Regions from separate parts of the Homo sapiens genome. Here region 2 is linked to region 1. The links are contacts of gene promoters, found by promoter capture Hi-C in blood cells and fetal thymus (Javierre and others, 2016). All regions are on one chromosome and are shown on one strand. Each heading gives the region's core, a stretch centred on a gene start or on the middle of the fragment in contact. The rest is flanking DNA. Distances are from core to core; before and after follow the strand shown.

Region 1 (7,013 bases), core at 1,094-3,593:
GTGGGGGCTGGGCCCAGACACGTAGTTCTCTGGGTAAACTGCCTTAGGGGAGAACAATCGTAACAACGACACACGTGTGTGCACTCGCGCAAAGGGCAAGGGAGACAGCTCTAGACAGAGGCCCTGAGTTCCACTGCGATGGGGGAAAGAGAGAGACAGAGACACACAAAGAGAAAGACAGAGGTGGGAGTACCCGCAGAGAGCTAGCAGGAGCGAGAAGAGAGGCTGACCTCAGGAAAAACATGGAGAGAGAGAGACTCAGAGAGAAAAGCAGCGAAAAGAGAAACAGAGACGCGGTGAGAGACGAAAACAGCCGCCGGCACAGGCGCGGACGCACGGAGAGGGCGAGGGGGACCCACGGACGGAGGCGGCAGACGGGAGCCCGGAGGAAGGGCGGGAGGCTTGCGTGGAAACGAGAACGCACGGACGAACGCGCAAAACCCCTCAAGCCTTTGGCCGCCCTTCCCCGGGCCCGGCCGGGCCTTCAGCGGTTTCCCTGCAGCCTCCACGCGCCCAGGACCCGGCTCCCGGCCCCCGCGGTCCCGCTGAGAGCCGAGGCCTCCTTTCCTCCTCCTGCGGCTCCGGCGACGCCACCTGATGCCTCCGCCGCCCGCCCGTCCGCCCCGCGCGGTCCCCTGGGCTCGCCTCGGAGGCGGCGCCGGGGACCCCGGGCTCTGTCTCTGGGCCCTCCCCGGCGCGCCCCCGCCGGCTCCCGAGGCCGGAGACCTTGAAGAGCGCGGCGTCCTCCTCGCGGTTGTAGTCCTGCTTGCCCGCGTGCTTCCAGGGGATGCGGAAGATGCTCTTCTCCTCGTTCTCCCACACCAGCCCGGGGTACTTGCCGCTGTCGATCTGGTCGATCAGCCACTGGCGGAGCTTCCCGTTGCCGCAGCTCACCGCGCTCATGCCGAACTCTCCGCCTCGGCCGCCGCCCTCCAGGTTCATGCCCCGCGTGCCGTCCGCGCCCGCGCCCGGGGTCCTCCGCCCGCTCTGCTCTGCACTGCGGGGAGAAGAGCTGCCCTTCAGCCACGAGGCACCGCACTCCGGGCACCCCGCCCCGATCCCCTGCGCCAGTGACCACGAGGCCCCGGAGTCTTTGAGGCTGCGAAGCGCGCGCGTGCCGTGTCAGGGTCGTCCGGGCCCCCGGAAGAAGGCACCTTCGCGGCCGGCCCGGGCGCATCCCCTGGGCGGGCACAGCCGTCCGCCTTCCGAGCTCGGCCCCCGCGAAGGCTCCTACCCGCCTGCTCTCCTGTAACGCACCCGCAGCCCAAAGGCTCCCGACACGCGCCGCTCGTCTTGCACCCTCTCTCCCCACCCAGCCGCCACCCCTCCTGGCCCTCCTTCCGCACTCACTCGCAGCTCTCGCTTGCCTTCGCTCACTCCCAACCCGCTTCTCGCCCCTTCCCCGCGACTCTGTCAGTTTCCACTCCCCTGGCGGCCTCCACGCGCGGAGGACCTCGCCTGCGGCCGGGCGTTCCAGGGGCGCAGCCCCGGGTTCCTCCACCCTCCGCTTTCTCTGCTCGCATCCAGACCCTTCGCCCCGAATAGGACCCCTATCCCTGCCCAGCTAGCGCGCACTAAGTGGGCTCTGCAAACGACAAGTGGCGCAGACGCGGGGGCTGCAGCCCCAGTACGGGGGATTCCGCGCGCAGAGCGTCCGCCGGACCCCGGAGCAGGCCCGGGAGAGCGGAGGCGGGGAGGGCGCGGGAGAGGGCGACGACAGCTGCGGAGCCTGGGAGGCAGGGACCGCGCCAGGCCGGCTAGGCCACCGCACGCAAGGCTCGGAGCGACCCAAATGTGGAGCTCCTCCTCCTCCTGCGCCAGCGGGTGAGCACCGCGCCGGAGGCCGCCGTGAGCTTGGGCCCCTTAGGAACGAAGAGCAGGGGAAGGAGCCTCGGATTGGGGTCCACAGGGCCGGGCCTGTTTCTCGCAGGCAGTTGTGCCGTCTTGTGTGGGTGCCTTGGACGGCCCCGCCTCAGCCACTCCTGGGGCCCCGACAGTCCGGTTAGCTCATCCCGTCCAGCTTGTGGCGACCCCGTCGCAGGAGCGCGGAGGGCAGGCGGGGAGGCTCGGGCAGAGCCAAGGAGGCGGGCCTTGGAGCCCAAACCAGCGCCTCCGGCTCAGCGCAGATGGGGTGGGAGTCGGAGCTCCAGGACGGGGCGCGCTCCCTTCCCGCTCCGAAGCCGGGGTACCCTGCGCTGCCCTGGAGGTCGAACCTCTGGTTCGCGCTCCGGGTCCTCTCTGGTATCAGCCTCACACCCCTCCTCCTGCCCGACTCCAGCCCTTACCTCGCCCTGGACTCGGAGCTGAGGGCAGCGGTGGGTCCCAAGATCGAGCGGTGAAACTGAGAGTGCGAGGTGGGAAAGAGGAACTTTATAGAACTCTCTGGGGCGGGGCCTGGGGCGGGGCGGGGCGCCGAGGCCTGTGGGGGCCGGGGGTTGGACTGGGGAGAGGGACTTTGCAAGCCGAGAGCCGGGGCCGGCCGGGCGGGCGAGCCTCAGGGCCGGCGTGAAGGCTGGGGGCTGCCGCGGCCGGGGTGGGGTTCCCGCGCCCTTGGCGACCCTCCGCGCGCCGCGCCCGGAGAGCGCACCTCCAGCCGGGCGCGCGCCGCTTCGGGGACTGTCACTGGGGCCGTTTCCCGCGAAGGGCGAGGTGCGAAATGCGAATCTCGCCTTTGCGCCAGGACCTCAGGAGGCCAGTCAATCACTAAACTGCAGCGATGTGGCCAGGGCGGGAAATGGGGGGCGTGTAGTAGCGGGAATCTGGTGCGAAGGGGACTTCGCTTTGCAGAGCGTGTAACGGAAGACGGAGGAATGGTCCAAAGAGAACTGGAGGTGGAGGTTGCGGGAGCACCCTCGGCAAGGCCATCACCGGGAACCCTGCCTCTCCGCGGTGTTTAGAGAACATCGCACTCACTAAAAAGAAAATAGGAAATGGCCCAGCTCCCTTGAGCTATTAAGCTTGATTCAAATACTGTCTCTGCGTGTCTGACATGCTTACATCCTTTTGCATCTATTAGGCTGGTGAATTGAAGTGACTCAGACAATGCCCCGGCCCCGAAGTTTTAATTATCTTAGCATGAAAGAGATGGGGGCGGGGAGAGGCTCCCTAAGGATCCAAGTGCTTAATCACTTCCAGACTTCAGTTCACCTTAAAATGATGTCGTTTTAACCTCAACCTGGAGGAAAGCAGTTTACCAGTGGGGTATAAAAGCCCAAAATAGGCCAGGCGCTGTGGCTCAAGCCTGTAATCCCAGCACTTTGGGAGGCCGAGGCGGTGGATCGCCTGAGGTCAGGAGTTCGAGACCAGCCTGGCCAACACGGTGAAACCCCATCTCTACTAAAAATACAAAAATTAGCCGGGCGTGGCCCCAGCTACTTGAGAGGACGAGCCACGAGAATCGCTTGAACCCGGGAGGCTGAAGTTGCAGTGAGCCGAGGTGGGCGACAGAGCAAGACTCCATCTCAAAATAAATAAATAAAAGCCCAAAATAGGAATAATACTTAAGTGGACCAGGGATTTTACATACTTTTCCAAGATGTCCTTAATCGCAAAATTAACCCCCTGAGCTTTCACCCGTTGAGCTTTCGATCGTCTGAGATGCTGAGTATGTGCATTTACTTCGCATTTTCAGGTAAACCATCAGATCTCTGGTTTCTATATGATTTTAGACCACCACCACCGTAGGTCAACCTGCAACTTTTGAAAAGCTTTTGATTTCACTTATTTCTCAGTTTTTGTTTTAATCTTATATATTGGGTCAATGTCTCCTAACCAAAGAAGAATCTATGTTTAGGCTAGAGCAAAACAGGTAGTGAGGTATGGATAGGTATGCTTTTCCTAAAACCAACAGACGTTCTCAGAAATTAACAGGATGCCATTTTTTATTTCACCCAAGTAAGTTTTCCATTACCAAAGTCTATGTAATAAACAACAGGGTTTTGTTCACAAAAAGTTCTGGTCACAACCTGTTTTTCTTCCTTTCCTTTCACAGATTTATTCACTTGACAAATGTATTTTGAGCACCTGCTACTTGTCAGGAACCGTCCTAGGCACTTGGAACACATCAGTGAACAAAGCAAAGATCGTTGCCTTCTTGTTGCATTATATTTTAATCAGTGTTACCTTTCCCTCAAACGTTCACAAACATACCAGAGAGGAGTTTGCTGAGGACAAAAAATGGCAAATGAGAGCTTTTTGCACTTTCGTATACGTGTCCTCTGCACCGGGTTTAGTCATTTTCAACATACCCTCCCCTCACTCATCCACATCCTCTGCTTTTAGTTCAGAACAACAGTCGTTGTGTGAAACTCTGAGCCTTCACACCACTACCTTGTTTTTAAATGTAATTGCTAATCTTCAACGCCATCTTCTGGTTTACTCATTTGCCATATTGATCCACTAGAAGTTATTTTTCTTAATGATGATGTGAATACAAGTAATAAAACATTTTAATCACTAAAACTCCGGATGGCCTCATTACCCGTCAGGGAGGCAGTGAACAGGTAGCAGCTGGCAGTGGTGACCAAGGACTTTTATATCTTAGTCACGATTGAAACAAAAAACGGCAAAGGTTCTCAAATTGAAAAGCTTCCCCACCAAACTCCCACCCCCTCCACACACTGAGACTTGAGAAAATCGGTATTCCTTAGTAAAAGGCTGGATATTTATCAGTAAATGACACAACTTGTTGACAAGCAGAAACTAATAGGAAACCAGTTCATTGAATGTGTACCCAAAACAAAGGCTGACCGTGATATTCCACGAGGAAGTTACTTATTTAGTGAATTATCCGTATGTTGAGGTTGTAGTCGGCACACCATCTGAATGGAGCATTTCCATTTTCAATTTCACATTTATCGTAAAGAGTCTGCAAGAAAAGCTGAATTTACCTCAATTCAGTATTTTAAAAGCCAATCTTTAAAATTATACATTCACATGCAAGTAAAATATTTCAGAAAAACCCATCCTACACACACAAACACACACACTAGATTCTTAAAATCTTGGATAACACTATTTTCCCACTAATTCACTCTTTAAAGGGGGGGGCTACAATTGGCTAAAAACAATGCAACTGTATCCATAAAGAAATATAAAGGGCAATCATTTTTAATTACCAGAAAAAATCAGGAAAATACTGAAAGTGCTATTTTCATGTAATTTATATAGAATATATGTCTCTTCTAATCCTCTTTGGTTATATGTGTTTGCAAATCTAATTACTGGCCATGACACATTGCATGGCCAAAAGGTAGTATCATTGGGGATTAAATAAGTGCTTGAGTTTTTAAGGCTGTGAGGCCTTGGGAGAGCCATTTAACCAAAGTCCTACTTCTGGGTGTACAAGGAGGGTGGGGGTGTCCCTGCCTCCCAGCAGTGTTTGTTGTGATGATGAAATGATGCTTTGCGCAATGCCTGGCACATCATCATGTTCAACAAATCAGGGCTATTATCATTTACTACGCACTTCAATACTTAGGGGTATCTCACGGACTTTCACTCATTTGGCCCCCAAACCAAACCTGGCAGGCAAGGAAGGCGGGATTCAGCCCAAGTGTAGGGAGAACGAAAGAGATTGTGAGAGGTCCAGATGGCTGGCCCAAGGACACAGCTCTGAGGAACTATTTTTTCTCCTTGTACACAGGGATTGGCTGCATTTGGCATGACTATTTCAGAATCAGCCTCTGAGTGCAGGCTGTCATAGGAGGGGGAGTTTCATCTCTGGTCAGGTCAGTGTGGGTAAGAAAGTCTTCCCTGGCCTCATCCTCCGCCCCTGTGAAGTGGAGGCCGGCGGCAAGTGACCACTGAATCCTCGTTTAACCCTAAGTAGGTGTTTTTTTCTTTCTGTTGCAACTTAGGATCATTAATGGCTGCCTCGTGGCCTTTTTGGTTATGGTAAATTCAGAGTAAGGAAAGCTGCATTTTATTTTTAAGCCATGGATCTAACCATTGACCTTCACTTTATTCTTCTTCACAAGGCTAAATTCTCTTTGAGGAAATGAGAGAAACCTGGTGCTGCCTCTTAGCCACTCTTCTCGAATGTTTAATCCTCTGGAAAAAAAAAATCTAACCTTCTAAGCTACTTATACCAGAGAGGAGTTGGGATGGAACACTCTGGAAATGAGATTATATTATAAATGCTCTCACTGCACACTCAGTTTAAAATAATTGAATGTTATTTGAAAAGTGATAAATTCTTTGGTAATAGAATACAGAGCATAAACCTGGATTTTTTCAAGTAGAGCTGTACACATTTTCCTAATTTAATTAGCAGAATGCCCTGAGTGCCTTCAATGAGAAAATTTGCAGAGCTTCGACAGTAAGCATTCCCAGGGCACAGGGCGTTCAGGACCAGCTTGTGATCTCTTTGAGGGCAGAGTTAGTAAGCGGGGCTTTTTCCTACATGCAGAGAAGAACCCGCTTTCAGGCTTGTAGGAAATGAGACTTGTGATTGTAATCGATGACGTAATGAGAAGCCAAGGATACGAGGTGATGTCTCCTTTCCCTGTTTATAAACAGCTCTTCCCTTTTCGCCTGCTCTTCTTGCCAGCATTCTAAGAAGAGTCCTGGCAACACTTCCCACCTCTCTGACGTGTCATGCTCTCTACAGAAACAGTGACGTGGCTTTACACAGGGCCAGTTGACACTGCCAACTCCTTAACCAAGCCAATGAAAACGCAAATGGTTTGCAATACCTTTGGGCAATTTTCTGAAAACTGAAGCAAGAGGTGAAAGGCAAACGGCTTTGTCTAATTCCACCCATTTGTAACAGCGCCTAATGTTGGGTTATTCTAAAGTTCATCAACGGCTCTTTCAGCGAAATTTTGTGAAACAGCATACCGTCACTTGTCACACATAAGACTCTAGGCATGCTGGATAGAGGAGTGTATCTTTCTAGAAAGGTTAGGTTATGCTGTGGTAACGAGACCCCCTGAGATTCTGGGGGGGGGGTTACTTCTTGTTCAAATGAGATATCCATGGCAAAGCCACGGGGATCCGGAACATTCCTGGCC
Region 2 (7,013 bases), core at 1,457-3,956, 56 kb before region 1:
GTTGCTGGCCCGTGTGGTAAGCCCCTCACTGCCTGGGGCCGGCCACGCGGCCGCTCCGAGTGCAGGGCCAGCCAAGCCCACGCCCACCCGGAACTGTAGCTGGCCTGCAAGCGCCGCGCGTAGCCCCGGTTCCCGCCCGTGCCTCTCCCTTCACACCTCCCTGCAAGCCGAGGGAGCCAGCGCCGGCCTCCGCCAGCCCAGAGAGGGGCTCCCACGGTGCAGCGGTGGGCTGAAGGGCTCCTCAAGCGTGGCCAGAATGGGCGCCGAGGCCGAGAAGTTACCAAGAGCGAGGGAGGGCTGCGAGCACGCTGTCACCTCTCACCCATGTCACTCAAGACCTCAGCAGCAAATAAGTAGCTGAGCCCTCGCTCCTCGAAACGCAGCCCCTCCCGGTTTCTTGGACTCTGAGTTCCTTTCACCTCCTAACTCATCCCTTGGGTGCCCCAGAGCCCATCCTGGGATCGCAGCAGTTCTCGATCACAGGGTCTCAGGCAGGCCAGGGGATTGGGGCCATGTCCGCGCTGGCCACGCCCAGGCTTCCCGTCTCCAGCCTCAGCTTCCCCTGGACTCTTGGGGTCCTTCTTGCCTCTTGTCTTTCCCTCTCGCCCCCACACCGAATCTATTGACCAGCTTCATTAACTCTACCTTAAAGTCCATCCAGAATGTGCTGGCTGCAGCCCTCCGTTCTCATCTGAGCCTGCAGCGGCCTCCTGGGGCTCTGGGTCCTGCCTTTCCCTCCAGGTGAGCCAGTGGTCCCTTACTTGGAAATTCCTCGTACTCCCTTCTGCTGGGCTCCACCTTGCTCCCTGGGGTCCCAGCCGCCACCTCCCTGCCTCTGGGGATCAGTGAGAAGTCCTCACACACCCACTGGATTCCTCTGTGGCACCTGCCGGCGCCTGGAACCGCATCCCCATGCTTAGGGCCTGTGTGACTCCTGAGCCAAACAGCCCGAGAGGACAGGCCCGGCCCCCACCCATCGCGGTGCCCAGGGCCCGCCAGCGCCAGGCTCAGGGAACACTGGCTGAGCTGGTGAGCTGTGGGACCCAACACGGGGTGCCTCCATTTCCTCAGTTATAAAATCAGGGGGCTCGGTGACTTCCAAGCTTCGATATGAAACCATTTCTCTAGAAGGGTGCTGGGTCACTTTGCTCTGATTGCCTTAACGAGCACCACGCGCTGGGCGTGCACTCCGGGCTTCAGCAACACACGTTTGTTCTCTCACAGTCCTGGAGGGCAGACGGCTTTGAGCCACGTGTGGCAGGGCTGGCTTCTCTGGAGACCTCTCCTTGGTTTGCAGATGGTGTCTTCTCCCTGTAGCCTCGCGGGGGCCTCCCTCTGTGTGTCTGCGCTCTCTCCTCTTCTTAAAGGAGCACCACTCATGTTAGTTTAGGGCTCACCCTGAAGACCTCATTTTAACTCAATTCTCTTTCTAAAGGCCCTGTCTCTAAATGCAGTCACTTTGAGGTACAAGAAGCGTCTTCATCCATTCTCTGTCACTTATAACAGAATATCAGAAACTGGGCAATCTATAAAGAAAAGGAATTTATTTCTTGAAGTTATGGAGGCTGGGAAGTCCAAGATCGCGGGGTGGGGCTGCATCTGGTGAGGGCCTTCTTGCTGGTGGGGATTCTGCAGAGTCCTGGCAGCGCAGGGCATCACATGGTGAGGATGCTGAGCATGCCGGCTCACGTCTCTCTTCCTCTTCCTATAAAGCCACCAGTCCCAATAGCATGATAAACCATTAAATCCATTAGCCCATTAATGCATAAACCATCTATTAAAGGCCCCACCTCTCAAGACTTCCACACTGAGGATTACTTTTCAACATGAGTTTTGTGGGGACAAATCTTCAAACCATAGCATGGGGGTTAGGACTTCAACATATGAGTTTGGAGGGGGACACAGTCAGCCCATAACAGATTATAATGTCACAGCCTCGAGTGGAGCCACAGGACCTCCCGGGGGGACTCAGTGCCAGGCCTCCATGGCAGTGGCCTGGAGGAAGGAGGCAATTCTGAAAGCAACATCTGAATGATGAGAAGGTGGTTTCGAGATTGCTGTGCTTGTGCTTACGAGCCTGTTTATTAGATGATTTTCCAGTAAACCTCCTTGTGAAAACGTGGGGATTTTTTCTCCCATTGTTTTGCTGTCCGATGGCAGCCCAGACAGGTGAGTGGAACGTTGGTCTCACCGCTTCCTCTCCACTGCGGCGCTCGGTGCAGCCCTTCCTCTGGCTCGTTCTCCCTCCCTCCCTTAAATACAGAAATGAGCCCCTGAAACATTACTTCAAGGGATGCTTACTCTGTGGGGCGGCCTGCATTGGAAATTCCTGTGGAGGAGAGAGGGACCAGCCCTGCGGCCTGGGCTGTTTGCATCTGGATCCCTCGCCGGCACTTCCTTTCGGGAGGCTGCCTGGCTTTCTCATTGTGCAGGATCCATCATGCAGACCACTGCTCTCCTGTACTGCATGGTGGAACGCTCCTCAGCACAGTGCTCGCCTCACCAGGGGGAAACTGTGAGTGACCTCAGAAGACAGAATTGCCACGCCAGTAAAAGCCCGCATCCCCCGCCCCCATGGCCTCAGCTAGGGAGGGGCAATGCTGCGCGCTGCGTGGTCAGCAGGCTTCCAGGGGCACCGGAGGCTCACCCGACTGCTGTGTGCACGTCCATCTTATGAGCCCCGCCCTCCCAGCCCCGCAGCCTCTCCCTGGCCTGGACATGCGGTGCCACCCATGAGCACCTGCTGTTTGTCATCCGTGCCATCCATGAGCACCTGCTGTTTGCACCCACACAGCGTCTAGAAAAGGAAGCAGTTCGGGGAGGTCAGGACATGCGCTGGGAAGAGGCAGGCTGGCAGAGGGTGGTCCCATCCTTAAAATGGGGTGCTGGAGAGCCGGGTGAGGTGGCCGGCCCCGTCCTCCCAGCCCAGCGCGCTTGCGCCTGGGTTTCCCCAGCCCCTCCCGGCCGCCTCAGCCCCTGCCTGTGTTCCATGGGGGCTTCTTGGTTTCTTGTAAAAGACACAATTAGAGTAACCCCAGAGCTTGATTCCCACCTCACTTCATAAACACAACAGGGAAATGCCGGTGACACACAAGCGTTCCTCAAACCACCTTGTTTTTGAGCTCTGCAATGGAAACACACCACTTCCTTCCACTGAGTCAGGCCCACGCCTCCCGGCGGCGGGCACCGCCCCCCAGCTGCCTGTGCCATCCCAGCCAGAGCCCAGATCATTCTTTCCACTAAGACGCCTGAGTCTCCTGGTGGAACCCAACCCTTTCAAAGACTGTGGGTTGGTGTGGGGTTTTTTTGCTGTTGTTGTTTGGTTTTTGGTTTTTCTTAAATTGCATAAGACACTAAATAGGTTAAATGAGGTTAGTGGGGTGTGCTCACCTGCAGTCCACATTCCCAGTGACACCCCCCAGCACCCCCCACTGAAGAGACTCCTCTGTGTGGCTGTTTGGATCCACATCAGCGACCCTGAAGCATGAGCAGAAGCTGGACAGGGAGGCAGAGGCAGGGAGCAGCAGGCGCCGGGGGAGGGGACAGACCTGCGCCTTCTTATCGTGGCCGCTCTGAGCAGCCGCCTTGCACTGCTGAGTTCTGCTGCTCCAGGGCTGCCCAGCACTGCAGCTAGAACTTCTCTATGTGGGACCCCAGCACCCCGTACAGCATCCCTTTTGCGTGTGAATAGATGATCCCTGCCTCAACTTCCCCTGCAGGGGCTGCCCCAGCTTTTGCCTCATCTCCCCTACTGCTTCTCATCCTTCCAGGGAGCCAGGTTGGGCTGGGGGAGGGACAGGTCCACCAGGCGGGCATGCAGGTAGGTGGGCAGGTCCTGGGCCTGAGGAAGCAACAAGAAGTGTGAGGGACAGGCACCTGATATTTCCATAAAAAGTGTGACTCAGCACTGAGCCAGGACCCCTAGCAGACAAGCCGAGGGGCTTCCTGCTAGGTCACAGCTGGACTCAGGAGAAGCAGCCGAGCTCAGGGCAGAGATGGCTGTGCCACGCTGGGCAGGGTGGCAGCTCTGAGATCCCCACCAGGCTGGCTGCCCAGTTCCCTCTCCTAGCTTTGTCCCTCAGTCCTCCTGCCCGGCCACCCCGCCCCTTCTGTTCACCACAGCCTCCAGCCCCACCTAGGCACTTCCTGAAAGCCCACAGTGACCCCAGTATTTTCACATCACCAGCACATAGGATGAGCATTGCTTCATTTGGAAATTGCAGTGTCTTCTCCTAGAGGAGTGGACACAGTAAGACCACATCTAGCTTTCAGCATGACTCTCAGAGACCCACTCTGGCCCCAAGCTTCCTGTGACACTGGTGACCTGGAGTCATGGGCTCTAGAGCTTCACAGAAACAGCCCATCATGGGCCGGAGACAGAGTGACCGCCCCCTGTCCCCCCACCTCCCAGATTCCCTAGCTGCCCCACTGGGGGCTCCTCCACTCTGGGATCCATCTTCCGTGCCTCTGACTCACCAGTGCCCCTGCTTTTTCCTACCCGAACCTCTGACTATAACAGGGCTGCACTTCGAGAAAGATATTTCTGTTGCAATCAACCCATTTTTCCAGGGGCCTGAGTGCCACTGTGCCTGCATTTCCCTGGTAACCATTTCTTGAACAGTTCCTATGATGGTTTCTGGAAAGGCCCAAACCAGGGCCCTAAGCAGAGTCTTCAATCCTGTTACCTGTTTTGGTTCCAGAGACTCCACTGCATGACAGCAAAGCTAAAAACCCAGGAAACCAGAAGTGCCAGAGAGCATGTCTTGGAGGTGTGCCCTGCCTCCCTCTGCTTGTTTACAGCCATCCTGATGAATCCCCTAAACTATCACTTCAAACCCCTAAAGGCTGGAGGAAGACAAAAGCAAATGCCACCACTGTTGCCATCTGAAAAGCAAGAGCAGCTCTGAGAGCTCAGCACAACCCATGTTTGTGAGTCCCCCTCGCCTGGCCCAGCCGTTCTCCCTCCACACCACGCCCTGCCCTCCCTGGCACCATCCACTCGCTTCCTCCCCAGTGTTGTGGTTTGGTCTTTGATTTCAAACACACTCAACATCCATTCAGTACATGCTGAGCTGTCATCAAATTCATTCACCACGCATTTGCCTAAAGCCTGCCGTGCGGCGTCCTCTGGAGCTCCTCAAGGCCCTACGCCTGCTGTCCCTCCCTGCAGGGGCCCCCTCGGTGCCAGGCTTGCTCCCGGGGCCACACCTTGGTCCCTGAGGAGGGCTTGTCCAGTGGACAAAAGCACGAAAGGCCTCAGGACTCATCTGCTGCAAGGGGACTCCCCTTAGTAAGCTGGGACCCGGGGCCCACATTGCTGTCCGCATCCACCTGTGTAATTCACGCGATGCCCACCCCAGCTTTGTGAGCCATGTGCTGCTGCACCCCCACTTCACAGATGATGAAAACTGAGGTGCCCCAGGCACCCAGCCGATCAGTGGCACAACTTGGAACAAAGCCACAAAGATCCCACCACGGCACTCAGGAGACAAGGGCGTGCAGGGGAAGGTGAATAGTGCAGAGCCCGCCCGCACCGCATTCTATGCTCCAAGGAGGCTGCTCCAGTGCTAATGGGAAGATGTTCTTTGTTGTTGTTGTTGTTTTGTTGTTGTTGTTTCTTGAGACGGAGCGTCGCTTTGTTGCCCAGGCTGGAGTGCAGTGGTGCAATCTCTGCTCCCTGCAACCTTCGCCTCCCAGGTTCAAGCGATTCTCCTGCCTCAGCCCCCTGAGTATCTGGGACTACAGGCATGTGCCACCACATCCAGCCGATTTTTGTATTTTTAGTAGAGATGAGGTTTCACCGTGTTGGCTTTTGAACAGCATTTTGGAGCTCTTCTTCCCTCCCTTGGTTCCTTTTCCCCACTTCTCTGCTTTACTTTGGGCCCCCAGTTAGTGGGTTAGAAACTCTAGGAAAAGCAAAAAGCTGTACGAGGAAGGGAAGGCCACCCAGCGCCCCTTGGCTCCGCGGGGAAGAGTTTCCTGGTGCTTCAGGGACGTGGCCTCCCCATTGGCTCTCAGCCTGTAGGGCAGACAAAGCGCAGAAGACTCGGTTATGGTCGCCAAGCAAAGCCCACATCATCAGCTGCAATTTGATCACAGACGACCATAGGCGTATTGCAGTTTCGCCCCAGAGAGTGACCCTGTGGCTAAGCGGAAGAGAGAGGGGGCCTGCGGGAAAGGAAGGGGGGATGCCACGGAGGGACAGCCAGCAGGACAGCTGGGGACAGCACTGTCACCATCGGGGCGTGGGAGGGTAGACGGCTCTCGAAGGCAAACTCCCGCACTCACTGAGGAAGTCAGTAGGTAAGACAATCAGCAACCCGGGGCACAGGGCGCACAGTCTTGGGTGGAGTCCTGGGTGGAGGCAGTCCTGGGTCCACAGTCCTGGGTGGAAGCACCTGCAGACGCACAGGTGGAGGGAGCCAGGTGCCGCTCTGGGGAAGGAGTGCCTGGGGCTTCTTCTTCCTATTCAAAGCCTTGCTGTGTTCTTTGATATTTTACCACAGATGTCATTACCTTGACAATGTTTTACAAGACCAGTGAACACAGTACCAGAGGAGTTGGGTGCTCGTCTTGGCTTCTTGTTTGGGCAATAGCTTCCCACCTGTAGTTAATGAATATCTTCCCCCACGTACCCCCACACAGTTGTTTTGAGGCTCAAGGGAGATATTTAGATAGTTCCAAAGCAGCCAGGGCATTTTCAAGTAGTAGCAATAGTAGTAGTGATTATTGCATTATTATCATTCTTAGAACAGGGAAGGCAGACGTGAAAAACAGTCCAAAAATAAAAATAAATTAAGACACTAATGAGAGCCATTCAACACCACTTCAATGGAGGAAGAATGTTTATAAGGGAACACCTGAGGCCTGCAGAGATGTTGCCTGTATCTGAAAAGGTGCTGGTTGCAGTGAGGGTGGCTCTGCCCTCAAGGAGGCAAACCCACAGTATGTAGACAAAATTATTCAAAGGGTCACCCTTGACCCACTCACTCCACTTGTTAAGAACATATTCC

What was found. Contacts are between HindIII fragments. The CHiCAGO score rates a contact against its expected background, and 5 or more counts as called.
Region 2: a fragment that was not itself captured here is called in contact with the fragment with the promoter of IRF4 in region 1 in 1 of 17 cell types (activated CD4 T cells); the score reaches 12.5 in activated CD4 T cells.

The regions. Positions count from the first base shown.
Region 1 is chr6:387,082-394,094 of GRCh38, reverse strand. It overlaps IRF4 (interferon regulatory factor 4), which reads right to left and starts at 2,343. Exons shown (of 9, transcript NM_002460.4): 1 at 2,286-2,343; 2 at 727-997. The coding sequence starts at 942. RefSeq lists enhancers at 17-126, 4,324-4,373 and silencers at 1,187-1,296, 1,407-1,456, 1,627-1,676, 1,957-2,026, 2,267-2,656 and 3 more. The HindIII fragment of the contact is 5,232 bases long and covers 1-2,959 here.
Region 2 is chr6:443,122-450,134 of GRCh38, reverse strand. No RefSeq gene overlaps it. Among named protein-coding and RNA genes, the nearest start is that of IRF4, 55 kb to the right of the region's middle. The HindIII fragment of the contact is 3,201 bases long and covers 1,106-4,306 here.